Linked DNA regions of Homo sapiens: regions 1, 3, 4, 5, 6 and 7 are each linked to region 2. The links are contacts of gene promoters, found by promoter capture Hi-C in blood cells and fetal thymus (Javierre and others, 2016). All regions are on one chromosome and are shown on one strand. The core of a region is centred on a gene start or on the middle of the fragment in contact, and the rest is flanking DNA. Distances in the headings are between cores, read along the strand shown. Region 1 overlaps FAM174A-DT (FAM174A divergent transcript). Region 2 holds the start of ST8SIA4 (ST8 alpha-N-acetyl-neuraminide alpha-2,8-sialyltransferase 4). Region 3 overlaps LOC105379100 (a long non-coding RNA gene). Region 4 has its middle 480 kb from the start of ST8SIA4. Region 5 overlaps LOC105379100 (a long non-coding RNA gene). Region 6 overlaps FAM174A-DT (FAM174A divergent transcript). Region 7 overlaps FAM174A-DT (FAM174A divergent transcript).

Evidence for each region. Contacts are between HindIII fragments. The CHiCAGO score rates a contact against its expected background, and 5 or more counts as called.
Region 1: a contact is called between a fragment that was not itself captured here and the fragment with the promoter of ST8SIA4 in region 2, in 1 of 17 cell types (fetal thymus). The highest score is 8.1, in fetal thymus.
Region 3: a contact is called between a fragment that was not itself captured here and the fragment with the promoter of ST8SIA4 in region 2, in 1 of 17 cell types (M0 macrophages). The highest score is 5.8, in M0 macrophages.
Region 4: a contact is called between a fragment that was not itself captured here and the fragment with the promoter of ST8SIA4 in region 2, in 2 of 17 cell types (erythroblasts and megakaryocytes). The highest score is 6.2, in erythroblasts.
Region 5: a fragment that was not itself captured here is called in contact with the fragment with the promoter of ST8SIA4 in region 2 in 1 of 17 cell types (neutrophils); the score reaches 5.7 in neutrophils.
Region 6: a contact is called between a fragment that was not itself captured here and the fragment with the promoter of ST8SIA4 in region 2, in 1 of 17 cell types (M1 macrophages). The highest score is 5.6, in M1 macrophages.
Region 7: a fragment that was not itself captured here is called in contact with the fragment with the promoter of ST8SIA4 in region 2 in 3 of 17 cell types (fetal thymus, neutrophils and total CD4 T cells); the score reaches 7.7 in fetal thymus.

What each region holds. Positions count from the first base shown.
Region 1 is chr5:100,488,348-100,491,232 of GRCh38, forward strand. The region is part of intron 3 of FAM174A-DT (FAM174A divergent transcript); the gene reads right to left. Among named protein-coding and RNA genes, the nearest start is that of FAM174A-DT, 45 kb to the right of the region's middle. The HindIII fragment of the contact is 6,152 bases long and covers 1-2,885 here.
Region 2 is chr5:100,901,979-100,905,021 of GRCh38, forward strand. It overlaps ST8SIA4 (ST8 alpha-N-acetyl-neuraminide alpha-2,8-sialyltransferase 4), which reads right to left and starts at 1,304. Exons shown (of 5, transcript NM_005668.6): 1 at 865-1,304. The coding sequence starts at 977. It overlaps LOC107986437 (a long non-coding RNA gene), which reads left to right and starts at 1,430. Exons shown (of 2, transcript XR_001742825.3): 1 at 1,430-3,043. RefSeq lists enhancers at 392-961, 1,447-1,686, 2,467-2,706. The HindIII fragment of the contact is 2,860 bases long and covers 851-3,043 here.
Region 3 is chr5:100,421,637-100,424,786 of GRCh38, forward strand. The region is part of intron 6 of LOC105379100 (a long non-coding RNA gene); the gene reads left to right. Among named protein-coding and RNA genes, the nearest start is that of FAM174A-DT, 110 kb to the right of the region's middle. The HindIII fragment of the contact is 870 bases long and covers 894-1,763 here.
Region 4 is chr5:101,385,378-101,388,591 of GRCh38, forward strand. No RefSeq gene overlaps it. Among named protein-coding and RNA genes, the nearest start is that of ST8SIA4, 480 kb to the left of the region's middle. The HindIII fragment of the contact is 2,872 bases long and covers 346-3,214 here.
Region 5 is chr5:100,439,098-100,442,119 of GRCh38, forward strand. The region is part of intron 7 of LOC105379100 (a long non-coding RNA gene); the gene reads left to right. Among named protein-coding and RNA genes, the nearest start is that of FAM174A-DT, 95 kb to the right of the region's middle. The HindIII fragment of the contact is 7,935 bases long and covers 1-3,022 here.
Region 6 is chr5:100,464,748-100,467,950 of GRCh38, forward strand. All of the region lies in intron 3 of FAM174A-DT (FAM174A divergent transcript), which reads right to left. Among named protein-coding and RNA genes, the nearest start is that of FAM174A-DT, 69 kb to the right of the region's middle. The HindIII fragment of the contact is 2,247 bases long and covers 436-2,682 here.
Region 7 is chr5:100,518,670-100,521,545 of GRCh38, forward strand. The region is part of intron 2 of FAM174A-DT (FAM174A divergent transcript); the gene reads right to left. Among named protein-coding and RNA genes, the nearest start is that of FAM174A-DT, 15 kb to the right of the region's middle. The HindIII fragment of the contact is 2,653 bases long and covers 1-2,644 here.

The DNA.
Region 1 (2,885 bases), core at 84-2,583, 410 kb before region 2:
GGTTCCCATGGTCTTGGGCAGCTCTGCTCCTGTGGCTTTGCAGGGTACAGCCTCCTACCCAGCTGCTTGCATGGGCTAGCATTGAGTTCTGCAGCTTTTCCAGGCACACAGTGCAGGCTGCCAGTGAATCTACCATTCTGGGGTCTGGAGGAGGATGGTGGCCCTCTTCGCACAACTCCACTAGGCAGTGCTCCAGTAGGTACTCTGTGTGGGGGCTCTGACCCCATATTTCTCTTCTGCACTGCCCTAGGAGAGGTTCTCCATGAGAGCTCTGCCCCTACAGCAAACTTCTGCCAGGACATCAAGGCATTTCCATACATACTCTGAAATCTAGGTGGAGGTTCCCAAACCCCAGTTCTTGACTTCTGGTCACTGGCAGGCTCAACACCACGTGGAAGCTGCCAAGGCTTGAGGCTTGAATCTCCTAAAGCCACAGCCTGAGCTCTACATTGGCCCCTTTCAGCCACAGGTGGAGTAGCTGGGAGGCAGAGAGCCAAGTCTCTGGGTTGTATACAGCACAGGGACCCAGAGCCCAGCCCCTGGAACCATTTTTCCCTCCTGGGCCTCTGGGCCTGTGATGGGAGGGGCTACCATGAAGACCCCTGACATGGCTGGAAACATTTTCCCCATTGTCTTGGGGATTAACACTTGACTTCCCATTACTTATAGAATTTCTGCAGCTGGCTTGGATTCTCCTCAGAAAGCAGGATTTTTTCTATCACATTGTCAGGCTGGAAATTTTCTGAACTTTTATGCTCTGCTTCCCTTATAAAAATGAATGCCTTTAACAGCACCCAAGTAACCTCTTGAATGCTTTGCTGCTTAGAATTTTTTTCCACCAGATACCCTAGATCATCTCTGTCAAATTCAAAGTTCCACAAGTCTCTAGGACAGGGTGAAATGCCACCAGTCTTTTTGCTAAAACATAACAAGAGTCAGCTTTGCTCCAGTTCCCAACAAATTCCTCATCTCCATCTGAGACCACCTCAGCCTGTATTTCATTGTCCATATCATTATCAGCATATTGATCAAAGCCATTCAACAACTCTCTAGGAAGTTCCCATCTTTCCCACATTTTCCTGTCTTCTTCTGAGCCTTCCAAACTGTTCTAACCCCTGCCTGTTACCCAGTTCCAAAGTTGCTTCCCCATTTTTGGATATCTTTTCAGCAGTACTCCACTCCACTGGTACCAATTTACTGTATTAGTGCGTTTTCACACTGCTATTAAAGACATACATGAGACTGTAAAATGAGGCAATTTACAAAAGAAAGAGGTTTGATTGGACTCACAGTACCACGTGGCTGGAAAGGCCTCACAATCATGGTGGAAAGCAAGAAGAAGCAAGTCACATCTTACATGGGTGAGGGCAGGCAAAGAGAGAGCTTGTGCAGGGAAGCTCCACCTTATAAAGCCATCAAATCTCATGAGACTTATTCAGTATCGTGAGAACAGCACAAAAAAGACCTGCCCCCATGATTCAGTCACCTCCCACCAGGTCCCTTCCACAACATGTGAGAATTCAAGATGATATTTGGGTGGGTAAACAGCCAAACCATATCACTACCCATAGCAAACTATGGATTATCTGCATTCCCTATTAAAATTCCAATAGCATTGTTCACAGAAATACAAAAAAAATTCAAAAACTCACATAAAACCATGAAAGACTCCAAATAGCTAAAACAATCTTGAACAAGAAGAACAAAGCTAAAGGCACCACTCTTCCAGATTTTGAAATATATTACAAAACAATAATCAAAATAGAATTGTATAGGCATAAAAACAAACACACAGATCAATGAAAGATAACAAAATCCACACACATATAGTCATCTAATCCTGAAGTAAGGCAGCAAGAATGCACAATGAGGAAAATATAGTCTCTTCTATTAATGGTGCTGGAAAAACTAGATATCCATTCTAAAAACCATGAAATTGGACTTTTATCTAAACCTACACACAAAAATCAACTAAAAATGGGTTAAAGACAAAAACATAAGACCTGAGACTGAAAAAGTCCTAGAAGAAAGCATAGAGAAAACGTCCCATGACATTGGTCTGAAGAATTTTTTTTAAGTATGATAACCCAAAACACAGGCAATGAAAGCAAAAATAAACAATAAGGACATTAAAGTAATGCACATCAAAGGAAACAATCAACAAAATGAAAAGGCGACCTATGATATTGCAGAAATTATCTGTTCAACATATATCGAGGGGTTAATATTGAAAATATGTGAGGAACTTATACGACTCAGTAGCAAAAAATAACAATAAAGAAATAACTCAATTCTCAATTTTAAAACAGGCAAAAACCTAAATAGATATTTCTTAAAATAAGACATACAAATGGCAAACAGTTATGTGAAAAAGTGCTCAATATCACCAATCATCAGGGAAATGCACACTGAAACTACAGTGATATATTATCTCACACTTGTTAGATTGGCTATTAATCAAAAAGGCAAAAGATAACAAATGTTATAGAGGATACGGAGACAAGGGAACACATACATATACATTGTTGGTGGGAATTTAAGATGGTACAACCATTATGGAAAATGGTATGGAAATTCTTCAAAATATTAAAAATGGAATTACTATGTAATCCAGCAATCCAATTTTTGGGTATATGTTCAAAGGAAATAAGATGGCTATCTCAAAAAAATATCTGCACTATCATGTTTATTTGCATTATTGTTCATAACAGCCAATATATGGAAACAAGGGCCCATGAATGGATGAATGAATAAAGAAAATGCAGTAGATATACAACATTAAATTTCACTCTACCTTTTTAAAAAGGGAAAATATGTGACAACATAAATGAATTAGGATGACATTATGCTAAGTGAAATGAGCCAGACACAGTAAGACAAATAAT
Region 2 (3,043 bases), core at 54-2,553:
ACCGGAACAGGGAGGATTTCCGAAACAGGACTTTGAATAGAGTTGACAATCAGGTTCACATCCTCAGAAAAAGCCTTCCAAGCTATGTCAGCAACACAAAGTTGCACCACCTCCTGGGTAAACTTCAAAGACACAGAGGCCAGCGGGTGGAAGGAAGTGTGATATTTAGAGAACTTAGTGGGGCGGGGGAGAGTCTGAACTCATCTAGACAAACTAAAAAAAATAGCAGAAATATAGTCTGTGTGAAGCTACAGTACCCAGTTTCTTTCTAAAACTGTAACCATGACGCCCATGCGTTTTAGCCGTAGAAGAACAAATAAGGAAGTATCCTTAGTGGTACTGGAGTTTCTAATTCAAATTATAACACATTAATCTATCCAACGTCAAATAGAAAAAAAAAAAGTAGAGAAACAGAGTATACCTATTTCCTGCTTTCTAAGCTTTAACTTCAGCCCTTCGAGAAACCATCTATCTCCAGTATCTCCTTAGGTGATAGGACATTGAAAACAGGCAACCGTTTGGTGAATAAAGACATTTCTCTTGAGTTCTGCCCACAGATTAAAAGGACAAGGACACACGTTCTTTGTTGACACTTCTGCAGTGACTTCTCCTTTGGCGAGAGAGCACCCAGGGCCAACACAACTGTCACCACAACCACACAGAGCAAGTTGAACTCATACTGGGAACAGCTTAGAGAAGCACGCACATCTCAACAACAGCCTTTGTTATTTAATTCATGACACTAACCACGCGCAAGCTCAAACAAACACACATGCTATCCTAACCATCACTCTACCCTCTATATTCACATTTCATTTATGGCTTGACTTTTTGTCATATCCTGAAATGAAGCTTTGCATTTACCCGATGAGTTGCGTCTCCTGGTGCTCCTCAGTTCTTGCTATTTCTTTTGTCTTATAAAAGATCAGGAGCAGACTTATTGTGCAGATCGTCCACCTCTTCCTAATGGAGCGCATCTTGGGTGCCCGAGAAAGTCCTGGTTGCCCCAGCTCCCGCACCTTCTCTTGATATAAAGGCTCCGTTTTGGGGAGATAGTCGCGGGGGTGAAATCTGTAAAATGCGAGGAGAGCTTGGAGCCGGGATCCCGGGATCAGATCACTGGGGTCTTCTGTGGCCGAGCTCCCTCTGGTCCTCGAACGCTGCCCAGCGACCTCTCGCCCTGTTTGCGCCAGCTCTGCCAGGGTCGCTCCGCGCCGCCTCCCTGGGGCTCAGGTTTCTTTTCAGATGAGACACCTTGTGCATTGGAGGTGGCGGCAGCTTCTGCAGCTGGGTTCGGGGGCGTCACTGGCCCTTCCCTCTTGCTAGGAGATAAACGCTGCGCAAAGCCAATCACCAGGCTGAGGGGGCGGAGGCTGCTTGGAGAGTAACGTCCCCGGCTCTGCCTGCTCTGTGCCGGGAGAGGAAGCTCACAGTGCTACGCGCCTGCGAGCTCGCGCACATACACATATACATACATACACACATACATACATATGCACACACACGTACACGCAGAATCACACACACTCTCCTGGGACATCAAAGCATCAGCTCTCTGGACCTGGGAGCTCCAAGATAGTCTATCCGCATCTAGGTGAGAGGGCACCTCGCCTGGGGACAGATTACAAAAGCGTCCCGCCAGAGGAATGCTTCAGGTAGAGCTAGGGGTGGATTGCAAGAAGAGTACCTTCTTTCAATCGCTTTTGCTAAACACACACCCTCACACGCAAAAACACGCCCTCCAAGGTGGAGTGAAACGGGGTGCGGGGGTGGGGACGGCGGTGGAAGGAAGAAGACTTTTATTACTCAATCTGGAAAGTGCAAATACACACATGAACCTGTTAGCCGATGGGCCCACTCTGCATGGGTGGTGGACGACGACCCTGGCTCAGGATTCTGCAGGAAACAAGTGATGATAGAGGTGTCATTAGGAACTTTATGGATATTTATGCGCCTCCCTTTCATTGCCATTTGGAAACTCCTCACGCAGAAGTCAAGGAAACTCCAATCCCACTTAAACTTCATTGCGGAGAAACAGAGTTCTGAAAAAAAAGCAGCTACCATGGACCTCTCTTTTAAACGCAAGTACACCCACACACATTCGGATACCAAGGAAGGAAGGAAAGAAAGAAAGGAAAGAAAAGGGAGGGGAGGAAGGAAGAGCAAAGTCCTCTCTAAAAGTCTCAATTATATATATAGCCTCTGATTGTCACCTCTCCTCCGTCCCACCATTTTTCGTACTTGTATTGGGTGGCAGGGACACTTTTCAAGAGTTCTGTGTTCGATTGTTCACTCTGAGTACCTCTCCACCATCCTCCAGTCGTTGCCCTCATTGGGAGAGATGCTTGCTACTCTGCTAGTACCACGCCTTGGTTCCGGTCTTTACTGTTGGCTGGTAGGTCGGGAGGCACCTCTAGCATGAGACAGTGTCTGGAAGCCAGGATTTCCCTCATCTATATGCGCCGGTCCCCAGCTCCCTGGTCGCCAGGGTTTCTCTCCAGTTGAATTCCGTGTTCCTTCAGGTTGAACAGTAGCTTCAGCGGTTTTTCACGCTCAGAAATGATGAGGCCCAATTCCAATCTTCCCTCCCGCCGGAAGTAAGAAGGGGAATTCTGAGTTGCTTGTCGCCTGACAGCTTAAAATAGCAACGAAAACAGCCAGCATCTTTGCTTAAAAACCCAAGGTTCCCGCCAGTGTTTACCATACTTCCTCTAGAGTTTAAGAAGTTAAGAACTTCCGAGATCTTGAATTTCCTCTTTGCAGCACAGCGAACGGGGTCGGGTATAAAAATGCTCCAAGGAGCAAGTAATTACGAACGTTTATTGACACTACAAGTGGCCCACAGGGAGCCTTTCGAGTTTATTGATGTCTAGGCAAATCCAGCCTGCATTAATGCATTTCTGTTAGATTGACTTCTGTTAGACTCACTTTTCTTCTGGCAAAAACTGCCAGAATAAAACAGCTTCTTATTTAAGTTAAAAGGGATCCGGGGCTGAGGGCAGGGGTCGGGTGGGAGAGGGATGCATGGTTAGGATGCTAAATT
Region 3 (3,150 bases), core at 79-2,578, 480 kb before region 2:
CTACTTCATAATATCAAGTGTTTTAAATTCTGAACATATTTAACAGGCTTCCTAAAATCAAACTTTAGTCTCAGGGTTGTCTTTCCTGACCCCTAGCTTTTGGGTGCTGCAGAGCACCCCTGGAGCATCTGGAAAAGAGGTAAACAGGATTATTTAACATGTTTAGGCACATGGAATTGCCAAAATGATGTTTAATACTCTTCAGGTTATATTCTAGGGAATAATATCAACATATGTTCCAAAATGGTCTGGGCTGTCTAAGGTTCTATTGTCTGAATATGTGCTATTAATCACAATTAAGGTTATTATGTTGGGTTATTGTAAGCCATGGAAATAACCAAATTTGTCAATCATGTTCTTGACTGTAACCACCCTGAACATTTTGTCATTTATAGACATTTGTCTTGTTTTAATTGTCTTCAAAAGATGGTTTATAATCAAGCTGTGGAACTTTAACAGGTGCTCTTCAATGCAGGTTTCTGATAACAGAAAAATGTACAGGACTCATAAAAAGCTAAAATGTTTAGGAATATCAAGCAGAACAAGAGTTAACAGAATGGAATGAACTAATAGAAAATTAAAGCAATATTCTTAATTTATGCTTGGAACACTGCTGATTATTATTTTGTTTTTCAAAGTCAAGGAAACTTTCTTAAAGGCTTTTAACAACTAAACAAGTTATACTCCTGTGAACGATATTTAAAACGTGTTTGTTTCTCTGTGCCTAGTTCCTCTAGAATTTGGAAACTAGTTGTAAGTATTCTTGAATTACAACAATATAGGTGTTTGCATCAGTACAACAAGTATCCATTTTCTTTTGCAACAAGATACAACTGGAGAAACTGTTCTGTGGAGGCTTTGAGTGGAAGGGTGTGCTTCCCTTTAAGGAATCAAGCTTGATTTGCAAAGCCAATAAAACCCCCTTAAGAAAACTGGCCTCCTACCTGTCTACACAGTCTCTGTACAAGATTACTGACCTGTGGTGAGCAAAAAAATGTCACTTTCTAACAGACCTAGGAACTCCATGCTTCTAAAATCTCAGGAAGAAAAAAGTTTATCCAACTCACAGTTATTTGTAGATACAAACCCATGGCTGGGCTTGGTTTTAAAAAGTCCGATCTGAAATTCCTTGTGGAACAGAGAGTTCCATCAAAGCCAATCAAAAAGGCCTATATAGAGGTGATTATTCTTGCTTCATTTTATGCAAATAATCAGGCCAAGTATACAACTAAAGTTTACTTTGCAAACAGCTAAGTCCTATCATAAGTTGTTTTTTAACAAAATGAGGACTAGAGAGACAGAAATTATGTTTCAAAATTTATCATACATCTGTCATTGGATTCAAGTCTCATTAGTCATTTTTAAATTCTTGTCTACATTTTAAACTAACCATGCTAATTCTTGTAATCCAACCACATCTCCAGCTGTGGCTCAAACAAAACAGAAAGTGATAGGTAATGTAAAAATCTCGAACAATGTTCTGGCTGGGCAATTATCCTATAAATCTTGCTAGGTAGCCTATAACCCCAAGGTTTTCTTTTTTTGGGAAAGTAAGATCAAGAAAGTTTAAAAAAGCCTAGCCCCATACACTCACTTAAAACAGCACAACCCATCTAAATGGCTTACAGGTATCAAATAAACTCTGTTGTCATGGTTATGGCCTATAGTGCCCCCACTAATAATGGTAGTCTTAATACTCATATTTTAACCCTATATTCTAAACCTCCTTGTAAAGTTTACTTCTTCTCACCTAGAAACCATCAAGCTTTAAATGGTGTGGCAAAAGGAGCTGAAAATTAAACTGACCTTCTACTGCATACCCTTAAATTGACCCAGGAGGAGCCCTAGCTGCTATTCCCATGCCACGCCCCTCTCCAGCAGGAAGTAGCCAGAGTAAGTCGACGCCCAATTCCCCGTAACAGCAGTTAGGAATTTCATTCCTGAGGGGGGTGTTTGTTATAGGAGATAAAAATAAATTATTTGGGTAGACAGAGTAAAGAGAGTCCCCGGCAGAATACTTTCCTTCTAACAAAAAGCAGCTCAGAAATGGCTCCCTTTCTAACCTTGTGAAGTTCAAAGAAATCATTTCTCTTCTAACAAAGAACAACCTGAAAGGCTGTAAAAACACAGATAAACGGCCGGGCGCGGTGGCTCACGCCTGTAATCCCAGCACTTTGGGAGGCCGAGACGGGCGGATCACGAGGTCAGGAGATCGAGACCATCCTGGCTAACACGGTGAAACCCCGTCTCTACTAAAAATACAAAAATTAGCCGGGCATGGTGGCGCGCGCCTGTAGTCCCAGCTACACGGGAGGCTGAGGCAGGAGAATGGCGTGAACCCGGGAGGCGGAGCTTGCAGTGAGTCGAGATCGCGCCACTGCACTCCAGCCTGGGCGACAGAGCGAAACTCCGCCTCAAAAAAAAAAAAAAAAAAAAAAAAAAACACAGATAAACAACTTGGGCACAGAAAGAGGTGGGGGAGTCTCCTCGGTAATCACCAAACTTCACATTCATAAAATGGGCCCTAGTAAAAACAATGGGCCTTAATAACCACATTCCTTTCCCTTTAAGCACACTAAGATAAGGAAGCTAAAAGCAGGGGGGCAGGGGAGGATCCCTGCAGCTGTGCAAGAAGATGAGAAGATGTCTGGAACAGACACAGAAACTCTCCCTCCCAGATAAGCAAAATAGAGCAGCAGAAACTAAGAGTCTACCTATGTAATCAAGGAATTGGGTGAGAGCTGATAGAAAACTCTGTGCTATGCACATAGCACACCTGATTCCAACTAAATCTTCAGGCCTTAGGAAGATAAGACACCCCTCCTCACTAGCCCATTTATAAAATCCCTGACTTTTTACTACAACTTGGAAACCCACTCAGGACCCCTCCCTGTGACAGAGAGCTGTTCTTTCCTTTTGCCTATTAAGCTCCTGCTCCAATCTCACTCTACGTGTGTGTGTGTGTCCATGACCTTGATTTCCTTGGCCATGAGACCAAGAACCCTGGTATTTACCCCAGACAACAAGGCTGCTTCAGTATGACTGAGAACTTCCAGGTGTTGGAGAAATGAAAAATTTGCTGGGTAAAAGTAATAAACCTGATCTCCAACATGTTAAGTATAAAATGTCAACAAAATAGCATTTACTTGA
Region 4 (3,214 bases), core at 532-3,031, 480 kb after region 2:
AATTTCATCTACCAGCCTGATGTATATTTCTGAAAAGTTTTTAATTAAGCTCATCTGTTATGCTTCAGATCAAAAGAATTGTCATTGAAGATATATGAGTCCTGAAATGAGTTTCTCTTGAGTAGTTCTTGAGTATTTTGTAGGCTTGAATGCAGCGCAAATATATAGGGCTACTATCTGCTCAATAACAAAGAATGCTTAGGTCCTCCCAGATCATAGACCAAATATCTAACCTTTCCTAAAGTCATTTATTTCATTTCAACCTCCACTAAATCATAATTTGAGTTACAGCTATGTCTGCTCTTACCTGCTTACCAAAACTTTCTGACAATTCTAAGCCTTACAAGCTTCTCTCTATTCTTGTTTAAATTTATATTGCACATATTCTTATGACACACAATTTGGCAAACTTGATACTCTTTGTTTTCTGGATTGCTTCTTAGTATCTTGAAAACACTGCTTCTTTTGGGAACAGGAGCCATGACTTTGGTTTGTATGGTACCCTTAGAACTCTAGCATAGTGCTAGTATCTAAAAAAAAAAGAAAAAAAAACTTAATATAAGGTCTGACCATTTGATGGTAGAATAGTGATTAAAGAAATAGTGACTCAGTTTTTGGATCATGTTCCAAATATTATTTAAAACATTTAATTTGAGTAATTAAGTTATATATATTACCTTCTGACTATCATGTGAACCTCGTATTAAATTTCTACTTTTGTGAATAGTGCAGAAGAGGCTGTGGGAAAATGGGTTTGTGGTTAGTTGCTGTGAGAAAGGTTTATTATTTTCATATAATAAAATGCACTTTTCCAATGAACACAGACTTGAAAAACAACTTCCAAAAAAAATGTTTTCATGAAACTGTTTTATCCCCCAAGAGAAGCAATGTTCAACTAGAAACTCTTACGTCATACTTGGTCCCTATAGCTGCACTTCACCTAAATACATTTACTTGCCTCCTTCAGTTGGATAAAGCTGAACTCATAGTCTGAAGAAAACTGCATAATTTAAGTGTATAATTCTCTTTCAGCTTATATGTTGGCATTTCACATTACAAATATGAAAATGTTTTCAAGACACTTTTAAAAAGTATTCTTGATAGTTGAAAGAAACACACTGCCCACTTTCACTTATATGACTGCTCCCCAAAGTATTGTAGATGCATGCAGTTCTATAGTAAATTTAGGAAAAGTCAAGAGGCTAACTTGACTAATTTACTTGAATTTATATACTGATTTGGGGAGTCTGTGTATTATACATTTTAAGTAAGCTCTAATTTTAACTGTTCCATTTATAATATCTGGATTAAATATTTTTTGGCACATTTTTATTTAATGGATATTTTTCTAGCCAAGGTACATGAGGGTATGGTCTATACTTATGTTTCTACATATGTATCCTCTGTGCTTAAAAGTTACTTGCAAATAAAGGTGCTATTATATTTGTTAAAAAATAATGAACAGATAATAAAAAAGATATAATACATTTTCTATGGCTTGTACTTTACAAATTAGAATCTCTCAGAAAATGTTTAGTACCAGTCATGATAGACTAACAAATATTAGACATAGCCTCCCGCTGTAACTAACTACAACAGCTAGACAAAATATTGTTAACAATTCCTTGCAGGTATCAGCACACAACACAGGGAAGCATTCATTCTCCTTTGCTGTTTCCTTAAGGACATTTTCAAAACCATAATTCATGGAAACAGAGCCCAATCAGAGATTAGCATGTGGAAAAATATGTGTGCAGGGGTTACAGAAGTTATTGGGATTTGGAGGTAGAGTGCTGAGAATAAATATATAGGGAAGGAACATCGACAATCTGAATGAAAGCTCACTTTGAATCCTGGACCAACTTCTAAATTGTTAACACGCAAAGCATATCTCTGGAAGTCTTAGCAGAGAATAGTGCTGAGAGGCTAAAAGCAGAAAAATGCCTCAGAGTGTTGGGGAGACACTGAAGTTCCAACCCAATCAAAGTAGAGAAATCTCTGTGAACACTACTGGCTTTAAGATGAGACTCCAGAAAGACCATGCCCTGAGCATAAGGTTAACACCTTGAGATAACGTCTGTACCCTCCAATAAGAACAAAGCTCATATGGAACCACCCTAATGAAACCTAACACCAAGCCTATGACAGAAGCAGAATAAAGTACTAATAATCAGAAATGATCCAGGTTTGGAGTAAGTCAACAAGGGCCTTAAGATAACTATGAAAGAGTAAATGGTACATTAAAAATGGAGGAATGCAAAGGAGAGCATAACCCACTCAACCACCAACACCCCCCCACACACAATCAAACATTTAGAAATGTAATATGCAATATGTAAATTTAAGACCTCAATAGATGAATTTAACTGCAGCCTACACAGAGTAGGAAGTAGGATTAGTAATTTCTAAGACAGGCTAATAGAAAATATTCAATCAAATTTCTGCCAAAAAGCAGAAAAAGAGTAAAAATTTGAGGTAAAAATTTGAGGAAAAGATTTGAGTAAAAGATTTGAGTAAAAGAGTAAAAGATTTGAGGAAAGATAGGTAACATAGTTAAAATATCTAATATGTATGTCTAAAACTGAAAAATGTAAAGAAATTATGAAACGCATGCAGATTAAAATGGTATGTACAAGGACATTCATAGCAGCTTTACTCAAAATATCCCTAAACTGTGAAACATATAAGTTTATCTACATACAATGGATACACAAAATATGGAAAATTCATAAGTAGGAATACTATTAAGCTGTAGCAAAGAATAGACCACTGATACTCAAAACAATATTGTTTAATCTCAAAAACATTATCTTCAACAAAAGTAGTTAGACTCAAAAACTTGATATTTTATAATTTGGTTTACAAAAAGTTCAAAATCAGTATAAACTAATCTCTGTTTATGGAAGTTAGAACAATAGTTACTTCTGAGGAGTACTGACCGGGAAAGGGCACTAGGAAAATATCTAAGGGGATGTAAACATTTAGATTTTTATTTGAAGTATGTGACTTAAGTGTATTATACTTTTGTTTTTAAAATGCATATTATTAAAAAGTCTCTGTGGGTAAAGAAGTAAATTCAATATCATTTAGTATATTCACAGTTTAATGGATATTTGTTTTCCAGCAATATTCCATTTTCTAAGGTCATTTTGCAGGAATAATTTGTAGAGGAGCTTCATCTTTACCTGGGAAGGAGAATCTTTACATTCCAGCT
Region 5 (3,022 bases), core at 2-2,501, 460 kb before region 2:
CCCATGCCTATGTCCTGAATGGTAATGCCTAGGTTTTCTTCTAGGGTTTTTATGGTTTTAGGTCTAATGTTTAAGTCTTTAATCCATCTTGAATTGATTTTTGTATAAGGTGTAAGGAAGGGATCCAGTTTCAGCTTTCTACATATTGCTAGCCAGTTTTCCCAGCACTATTTATTAAATAGGGAATCCTTTCCCCATTGCTTGTTTTTCTCAGGTTTGTCAAAGATCAGATAGCTGTAGATATGCGGCGTTATTTCTGAGGGCTCTGTTCTGTTCCATTGATCTATATCTCTGTTTTGGTACCAGTACCATGCTGTTTTGGTTACTGTAGCCTTCTAGTATAGTTTGACAGGGATGCCCTCTCTCACCACTCCTATTCAACATAGTGTTGGAAGTTCTGGCCAGGGCAATTAGGCAAGAGAAGGAAATAAAGGGTATTCAATTCGGAAAAGAGGAAGTCAAATTGTCCCTGTTTGCAGATGACATGATTGTATATCTAGAAAACCCCATTGTCTCAGCCCAAAATCTCCTTAAGCTGATAAGCAACTTCAGTAAAGTCTCAGGATACAAAATCAATGTACAAAAATCACAAGCATTCTTATACACCAATAATAGACAAACAGAGAGCCAAATCATGAGTGAACTCCCATTCACAATTGCTTCAAAGAGAATAAAATACCTAGGAATCCAACTTACAAGGGACGTGAAGGACCTCTTCAAGGAGAACTACAAACCACTGCTCAATGAAATAAAAGAGGATACAAACAAATGGAAGAACATTCCATGCTCATGGGTAGGAAGAATCAATATCGTGAAAATGGCCATACTGCCCAAGGTAATTTATAGATTCAATGCCATCTTCATCAAGCTACCAATGACTTTCTTCACAGAATTGGAAAAAACTACTTTAAAGTTCATATGGCACCAAAAAAGAGCCCGCATCGCCAAGTCAATCCTAAGCCAAAAGAACAAAGCTGAAGGCATCACGCTACCTGACTTCAAAAAGTACTATTATGCTAACCTTTAACTTGCATCACAGTAGAAGGTCCTAAATATATGTCTTCCCACTGAATTTCTTCTTGGTCCTTTGATGGAAAGGAGACAGCTTTGTAGTAGAAACTCCATGAGTTTGAATTAATTGGTATCTTTATGACCTCTAACACTGGTGCAATTTTTTTCCAATGACATAATGATACAAATAATAAATAAAATAACATGGAATTACATAAAATATTTAATGATATTACGAACATTTTACAAAGATCAATCAAAACTAGGAAAGATGTATTACCAAAATTTTAAATAGCTTGGATCTAAACAGAAGAGTATTCCTGACACCCAAATAGGAGCCCAGGAAAAATATAAAATTTAAATATTGAGCATTAAATATCAGATGAATTCCAAATGTCCAGTACAAAGATCAGGGTCTAATAGGGTGACTGCTTAAAAATACAATATTCAATTATATTAATACATATATTAAACCATTATTAGCCTTTTGCTGTCACAGGATGTTCTTAGCATGTCTAATACTGCAATATTCTTCATTATCTCATGCTTTTCTTGCTATCCAGTCTCATTTGTTTCCACTTTCCACTTTCTAATTCTAAGATTCTGCACTGAGCTTTTTTATGATACCTGAAGTTGCTCCGTTTTGCTTTTTCGGTTCTCTAGGTTACTGTTATGGTTTGGATATGTTTGTTTTACACAGCCCAGTCTCATGTTGAAATCTGATCCCCAATGTTGGGTGCAGGGCTTGGTGGGAGTGCTTGTATCATGGAGATGGATCTCTCATGAACGGCTTAATGACATTCCCAGTGGAGTTAGTAAGTTTTCACTTTTAGTTCCCAGGGGAACTGGTTATTGAAAAGAGTCTGGTACCTGGACCTTTCTAGCTTGCTTTCTGCCATCACCATATAGTGGGCTCCCCATATAGTGGGCTACACCTTCCACCATGACCGTAATGTTCCTGAGGCCCCTGCCAGAAGCAGATGTTGGTGTCAGGCTTCTTGTACAGCCTGCAAAACTGTAAGTCAAATAAACCGCTTTTCTTTATAAATTACCCAGCCTGAGTTATTAGTTTATAGCAACACATAAATTAAGACTGTCCCTATTTCTCTCCTTGGGATACTTGTCCCCATACCTTGCCTCTGTAATTATTACTCATCTTTCAGACCTTGAGATACATGTCACTTTCATATGTTCCTTGATTCTGAAGTCCATGGTAGACATCACTCCTGCATTTTTTTCTAATGATACTGTACTTTCCTTATCATTAGTGTATCATACCGTTAATTGTTGCTCTCCGCCATTTACCTGTAAGCTCTATAAATGCAGGGATCATGACGGTCTTGTTAAGTGTTACACCTAAGCATCTGCAACACTGAAGATAATCACTACATTTAAAATAATGCTGTTATAAAGAAATTTTCAAATTTTGTCTATGTGGTAACTTGGTATACATATTCCTTAAAGAAATGTTTTTGGAAAATCGTTCACATGCACTGCTGATGGAAATGTGAACTGTTTTGACCTTTTATGAAAGCAATATGGGGCAATATATATATGTACACACAAATGCACATATATTACTGTGTGTATATGTGTGTATATAGGCATATATGTATTTCTCAATGCAGTAAACCTATCTGCTAAAGTAAAGCTATGAGTAGGTAAGGTTGTACATTAAAAAGTTGCTTATTATAGTATTGCTTCCAGTGATGAAAAACAAACAGCAAAAGAAATATGGAATGCCTGTTAGTAGAGTAATTGTTTAACATTGTTACATTATATTCTTGCCATAAAATGTCACCAACCATTAACAAAAATTTTTGAGAAATATCCCAGCTGACTTGAAAATATTTCACAAAGTATTATTGAGTGAGAAAAGCAAGATTCTGAGGGTGTGTATTTGGTGGCTCTAAAGAAGAATAAGAAAGGATGTTTTCTAAGTTGGCAACTTGATTTAACTGGTTAACTAAAGGAGACTGGAAAAGATATTGGTTGGAAGGAGAAGAACAAA
Region 6 (3,203 bases), core at 309-2,808, 440 kb before region 2:
GCAAGACAGAGTCTTATAAAATGTAATGTAATCATGAGAATGACATCCAATTTGCCATAATCCATGTGTCACAGATGAGGACATTATAAAAGGCATGAATGCCAGAAAGTGGGAAATTTTGGGAGTCACCTCAAGGGTTTCTCTCCCACTGCAATTAGCAAAATAATACAGACATTTCCAGAATAAATAGAAGTAGATAAAGTAATAATTAGAAAGAAAGTGTTCACAATATAAAAAGTGCTAGCTAAACAGGTCCTATGATATAATGCTGTTCTGTCTACTTCTCTTTCAAATCATGCCACTGGCTTCCGTGAAATGGCCAATCATGGGTCACAGGTTGTACTGCTAAATTTAGGAGCTGATTTTATTTGTTTAGTCACTTGATTTGTAGATAAGAGAGTTAGATAGAAACAGACAGAAGAAGAGAGATAGACAAGCTTGCCTTCAGACTGCCATGTTGTGGTAGACTAGTGCAATAATTCCTGCTAATTTGTTCATGTCTCACTGCATGCCTATCCTTTTGGAAATTACCATCCTACATGGATTTTGTGCTTGGCCATATTAAATACAGCTTTCTTTGACCAATGGCACAGTAGCAAATATGTCACTTGCAGAGGCCTGAATGACAATTAAGCATCGACGCTTGCTTTCTCTCCATCTTGAAGTTTGTCACAACAACTTTAACAAGGCTGAACCAGCCTACTGGATATTAAGAGACCCATAGCCCACTTGCACGTATTGTTCCAGCCAGTAATCAATCCCTTAAAAGCAGATCTGCCTACTTAACCAGTAGCTGAATGCAGACGCAAGAGCAGATCCAGGTTAAATCATGAGAACCTTCCTGCTGAGCCCAACCAAAAATTGATCATACACAGAATCATGAGCTGAAAAACATGTTTAAATCAATTAGGTTTTGTGGTTGTTTGTTAAGCAGAAAAAGATGGCCAATAAACATACCTACAGATTATTGTATCTAATATGTATAGGCGTACATATATGTGTGTGTATGTATACATACACACATGTGCATATGCATAAAATCCAAGGTCCATAGATATTACTGAATATTGATTGTATATTACAAGGAAGCTAAAGAAAGTTGATATATCCTCATAAACACTCCCTGTATGACTAAAGTGTAACTTCCTTTTTTTCTTTCTTTTTTAGCAGCAAAATCACTGTTAGGAGTATGCCTAGCAAAGACTATTCCTGAACAAAAAAAAATTTTGAAATTGGTTTTTATAAATTATTTCCTCTTTTTGTCAAGAAAAGTATCTGCTGTTGCTTGATTACAGTGAACAAGTCTGTAATCAAATGAATTCTAAGAAGAATTACATTACTTCAGTCACTTTTAGTAACCAGGACATTACAGCTGCATTTACGGTTTATAAGAAAACAAAAATTCAATTAGTTATATTGTAGAAGGGAATACAGATGGAGATATTTTTGAAAGTTGCATACATCAAAGAAAGAAAAGTTGCTGGGTTTTTTTAATGAGAAAAGGAGCTAAAATGTCTTTCTGCACTCTGCTGGAAAAGAGTTTCTACTTTATTTCTTATATTGACTAACCAAAAGCAAAGAGGTTTGTGGAGCATTTTTGAAGGATGTTCTCAAAATAGAGAAGAGAATTTAGAAAGTTTTGCATATCATAAAAATATTGTTCTATGCCAGTTAACTGACTTTGGGATTTAAATAAATCTGGACTCATTAAATTTAATCTTTTATTGTTATTATTTTTAAAAATATTTCACTTTGTATTAATAATTTTAACTACTCTCTGTGTATTCATCAATAAAATATCTAGATGATAAGTGAAAAATTTAATGAATAGGACATTTAAATGGAAAAGCATATAAATATAATGATCCATATATAAATACCTAAAGATATTTTTTGTTCTAATAATATCAGCTCTCATATTTATTTAAAGATCAAAAAGGCATTGGAAACTATAAAGTGATTAAAATATCCCCTTCTTTTGAATAATCAACAAGTCCCAAAGTTCCTGTTTCCTGACTATTCCTTGAAGCTATTTTTCTTTTTCTTCTCAGGTCTCTGCCACTAAGTTAGTTCTGGTTCTCTTTGCATTTTGCCTGGATCACTGCACTGGCTGTTTAAATTGTCTCCTTTCTTCATCTCTTGTTGTTTTCTAATCTTTGAACATCACATTCTAGCAATATAAAATTACTAGTAGTTGGTTGAATGCACTATTTTGTCTCATTTGTCCATGCATATTTATGTATTAAAATGTCCTTATCATTCTCTGTATGAGTACCTATCATCTTCAAAAACATGGACTAGATATTTCCTCCAATTATATTAAATGGTCTCAATGACTTAATCATTTCTCATGTCTTCCACACGTGTTTACCATCCACATTTCTATGTTTGTATCTTGTGCAAAATTTTATTACAATGTTTAGTGTTCTACATCAAAATTATGTTATAATTTTTAAATCTTAAATAAATGTCCGTTGTATCTAATACATTATGTAGACTTTGTTTTTATATTTGTCAGTGCTCACAGAGACTCTATATTCTTTGAGAAAAAAATTGTTTTATGTATCTTTTTTCTTAATCTCTAGCACTTACAACAGTATCTACCTTTAAGAATATATTCAAAAAACTGTTACATGGCTTCTGAGAAAACAACAAATTAGCCATTTAACCTGAATATTTTGAAGCTTATGGATGAAGAATATTTTCATGATGGAAACAACATGAGGTAAATTAGCAGCAGAGATTCATCTGGAAGTATGATATATTGTTTAAAAAAACTTTTTAAAGTCATTTCTGTCCAAATATAAAACATTATGTGATTTATCTCTTTTTTTCTCAAAATACAATTCTAATTAATAAAAAATGTTATATTTTCAAGTACAAAATAAAGTTCAATGTATCTGTTACCCATTTTATTTATGTTATTATTTTTTATTGATACACAATAGATGTACCTATTTCGGGGGTACCTGTGATAATACCCATTTTAATGCTTAGTGAAGCTGTCACATTTAAATATGTTTTAAGCCCAAAGTTTTCTTTTATTTTGATAATGAATGTAACATGTTATTTAAAAATAACTGCTTTTAGATATTCTTAACAACTTAGAACTTTTGTTCTGTCTTTCCTAGGTTGTTATATAAAGAAAAAAATATTTTATTTAAGGAGAATTCTGGGAAAATGGCAAGCAGGAAACACAGGGA
Region 7 (2,876 bases), core at 68-2,567, 380 kb before region 2:
AAATCGCTGCTATTCCAGCCTCACAGGAGACAGTGAACCTACTCCAACACCTAGTACATCATTATTAAAACTAGCATCTGAGAAAGTCATTGCACATTGTTTCTCTACAACCAAGGAATTCATACAGTCTTTGCCACTGAAGGCACTCAGAGCCAAAGCTAGGTGAAAATAAACAATAAAGTCTCATCCTCAAGGGGAAAAAAAATAAGGATCAAAAAAAGCAGTCAAAAATAAATTCAAAAATAATTACACTAGTCTACACAAATGAAACAGAACCAGAAAAATAATTAAAATAATTCTGGAAATATGAAAAAAACAGTTATGTAACACTCCCCAAAGATCACACTAATTCTCCAGCAGTAGATTCAACCCAAGATGAAATCACTGAAATACCAGATAAAGAATTCAAAGGGTTGATTACTAATTTACTTAAGGAGATACAAGAGAAAGGTGAAAACCAACATAAAGAATCATTTTTTAAAAAACTAAGAATATAAATGAAAAAATTTTAAAGAGGTAGATATTTTAAAGAAAAATGTTTCATAACTTCTGAAAATGAAAGAAACATTTAGGGAACTAGAAAATGCAACTGAAAGTTTTAACATAGACAGACCAAGTATTGAATTTCACAGGTCAAAGAGAAGGCTCTTGAATTAACCTAATAAGAACAAAAAAAAGAATAAAAAAGAATTAGAATAAATGAACAAAGTCTCTGAGAAATATGCATTTTTGTAAAATGGCCAAACTTAATCATTATAGGTGTTTCTGAGGGAGAAAATAAAAGCAAAATGTTTGGAGAACTTCTAGAGGGAATAACTTAGGAAAATTTCTCTGGCGTTGCTATAGCTTTTGACTTCCAAATATAAAAAATTTAACTCCTGGGAGACTCATTGCAAAAAGACAACACCAAGGCATATAGTCACCAGGCTATCTAAAGTCAATGTGAAGGAAAGAATTCTAAGAGTAGTGAGACAAAAGCATCAGGTAACCTATAAAGGAAAAGCTCTCAGACTAATAGCAGACTTCTTAGTAGAAACCGTACAAGTTAGAAGAGATTGGGGTACTACCTTTAGTCTTCTTAAACAGAGTAACTGTCAGCCAAGAATTTTATATCCAGCAAAACTAAATTCCATAAATGAAGAAGACATAAAGTCTTTCTTTGACAAGCAAATGCTAAGGGAATGTGTCACTCAAGGATAGCCCTACAAAAAAATGCTAAAAGGAGTTCTAATTGTTGAAACAAAAGATTGATACCCACCAGAATAGAAACTCCTGAAAGCATAAAATTCACAGGACTTATAAAACAATAACACAATGCAAAAAACAAAGTCACTAGGTAACCATCAATACGATGACTGAAACAGTATCTCACATCTCAACATTAATGTTGAATATAAATGGTCTCTATAATCTACTTAAAAGATACATTGTCAGAATGAATTTTTTTTAAAAAATCACAAACCAAATATCTGCTGTCTTCAGGAGACCCACCTCACATGTAAGGATCCTTATAGAGTCAAAGTAAATGGAGGGGGGAAAGATATTTCATGCAGATAGAAACCACAACTGAGGAGGAGTAGCTATTCTTAGATAAAATTGATTTTAAAGCAATAGCAAAAAGAGACAACAAAGGGTAGAAGGCAGGACTAGCTTGCACCTCCCGCTTGGACAAACAGAGCAGCATGTCAGAGCCTCTGAGCTCAGACATGCCTATCCCTACCCCCACCTGGTGGTCTTTCTGTACTAGCCCTGGTAGCCAAAGACAATGGTCATAATCTCCTGGGAGCTCTACTGCACTGCCCACCACCTGGCAAACCTGAATACTTAACCAAGTGTACCTAGGGCAAGTTTGCATCCTCCCTATAGGACTGCAGCTGATGCACTCCTGAAAGCGCCACCTCCTGGCAGGAGCCCAATCAACACAAAACCAGCACACCAAACAAAAATACAACCAAGGACCCTCACAGAGTCCATTTCATTCCCCTGCTACATCCACTGGGGCATGTGCTGGTATTCATGGCTGCAAGACCTGAAGATGGATCACATCACAGGACTCTGCAGACACTCCCCAGTACCAACTTGGAGCCCAGTAGCTCCATTGGGTGACTAGGCCCAGAAGAGCAAAAATAATTATGACAGTTCAGCTCTCAGGAAGCCCCATTCCTAGGAGAGGGGAGAGAACACTACATAAAGGGTGCAGCCCATGGGGCAAAATAATCTAAACAGCAGCCCTTGAATCCCAGATCTTCCCTCTGACATAGTCTACCCAGATGAGAAGGAACCAGAGAAGCAATTCTGGTAGTATGACAAAACAAGGTTCTTTAACGCCCTCAAAAGATCATACCAGCTAACCGGCAACAGATCCAAACCAAGGCAAAAATCTCTGAATTGTCAGAAATAGAATTCAAAAGGTTGATTATTAAGCTAATCAAGGAGGCATCAGGGAAAAGTGAAGTCCAACTTAAATAAATCAAAAAGATGATACATGATATGAAAGGAAAGTTCTTCAGTGAGATTGATAGCATTAATAAAAAACAACCACAACTTCTGGAAATCAAGGACACAGAGAATTGGAAAATACACTGGAAAGTCTCAGTAATAGAATCAAACAAGTGGAAGAAAGAACTTCAGAGCTCAAAGACAAAGCTTTTGAATTAACCCAATCCATCAAAGACAAAGAAAAAAGAATAAAAAATGAACGAAGCCTCCAAGAAGTCTGGAACTATGTTAAAAGTCCAAACCTAAGAATAACTAGTGTTCCTGAGGAAGAAGAGAAACCTGAAAGTTTGGAAAACATATTTGAGGGAATTATCAAGGACAACTTCCCCAGCCTTGCTAGAGATCTAGACATCCAAATACAAGAAGCTCAAAGAACA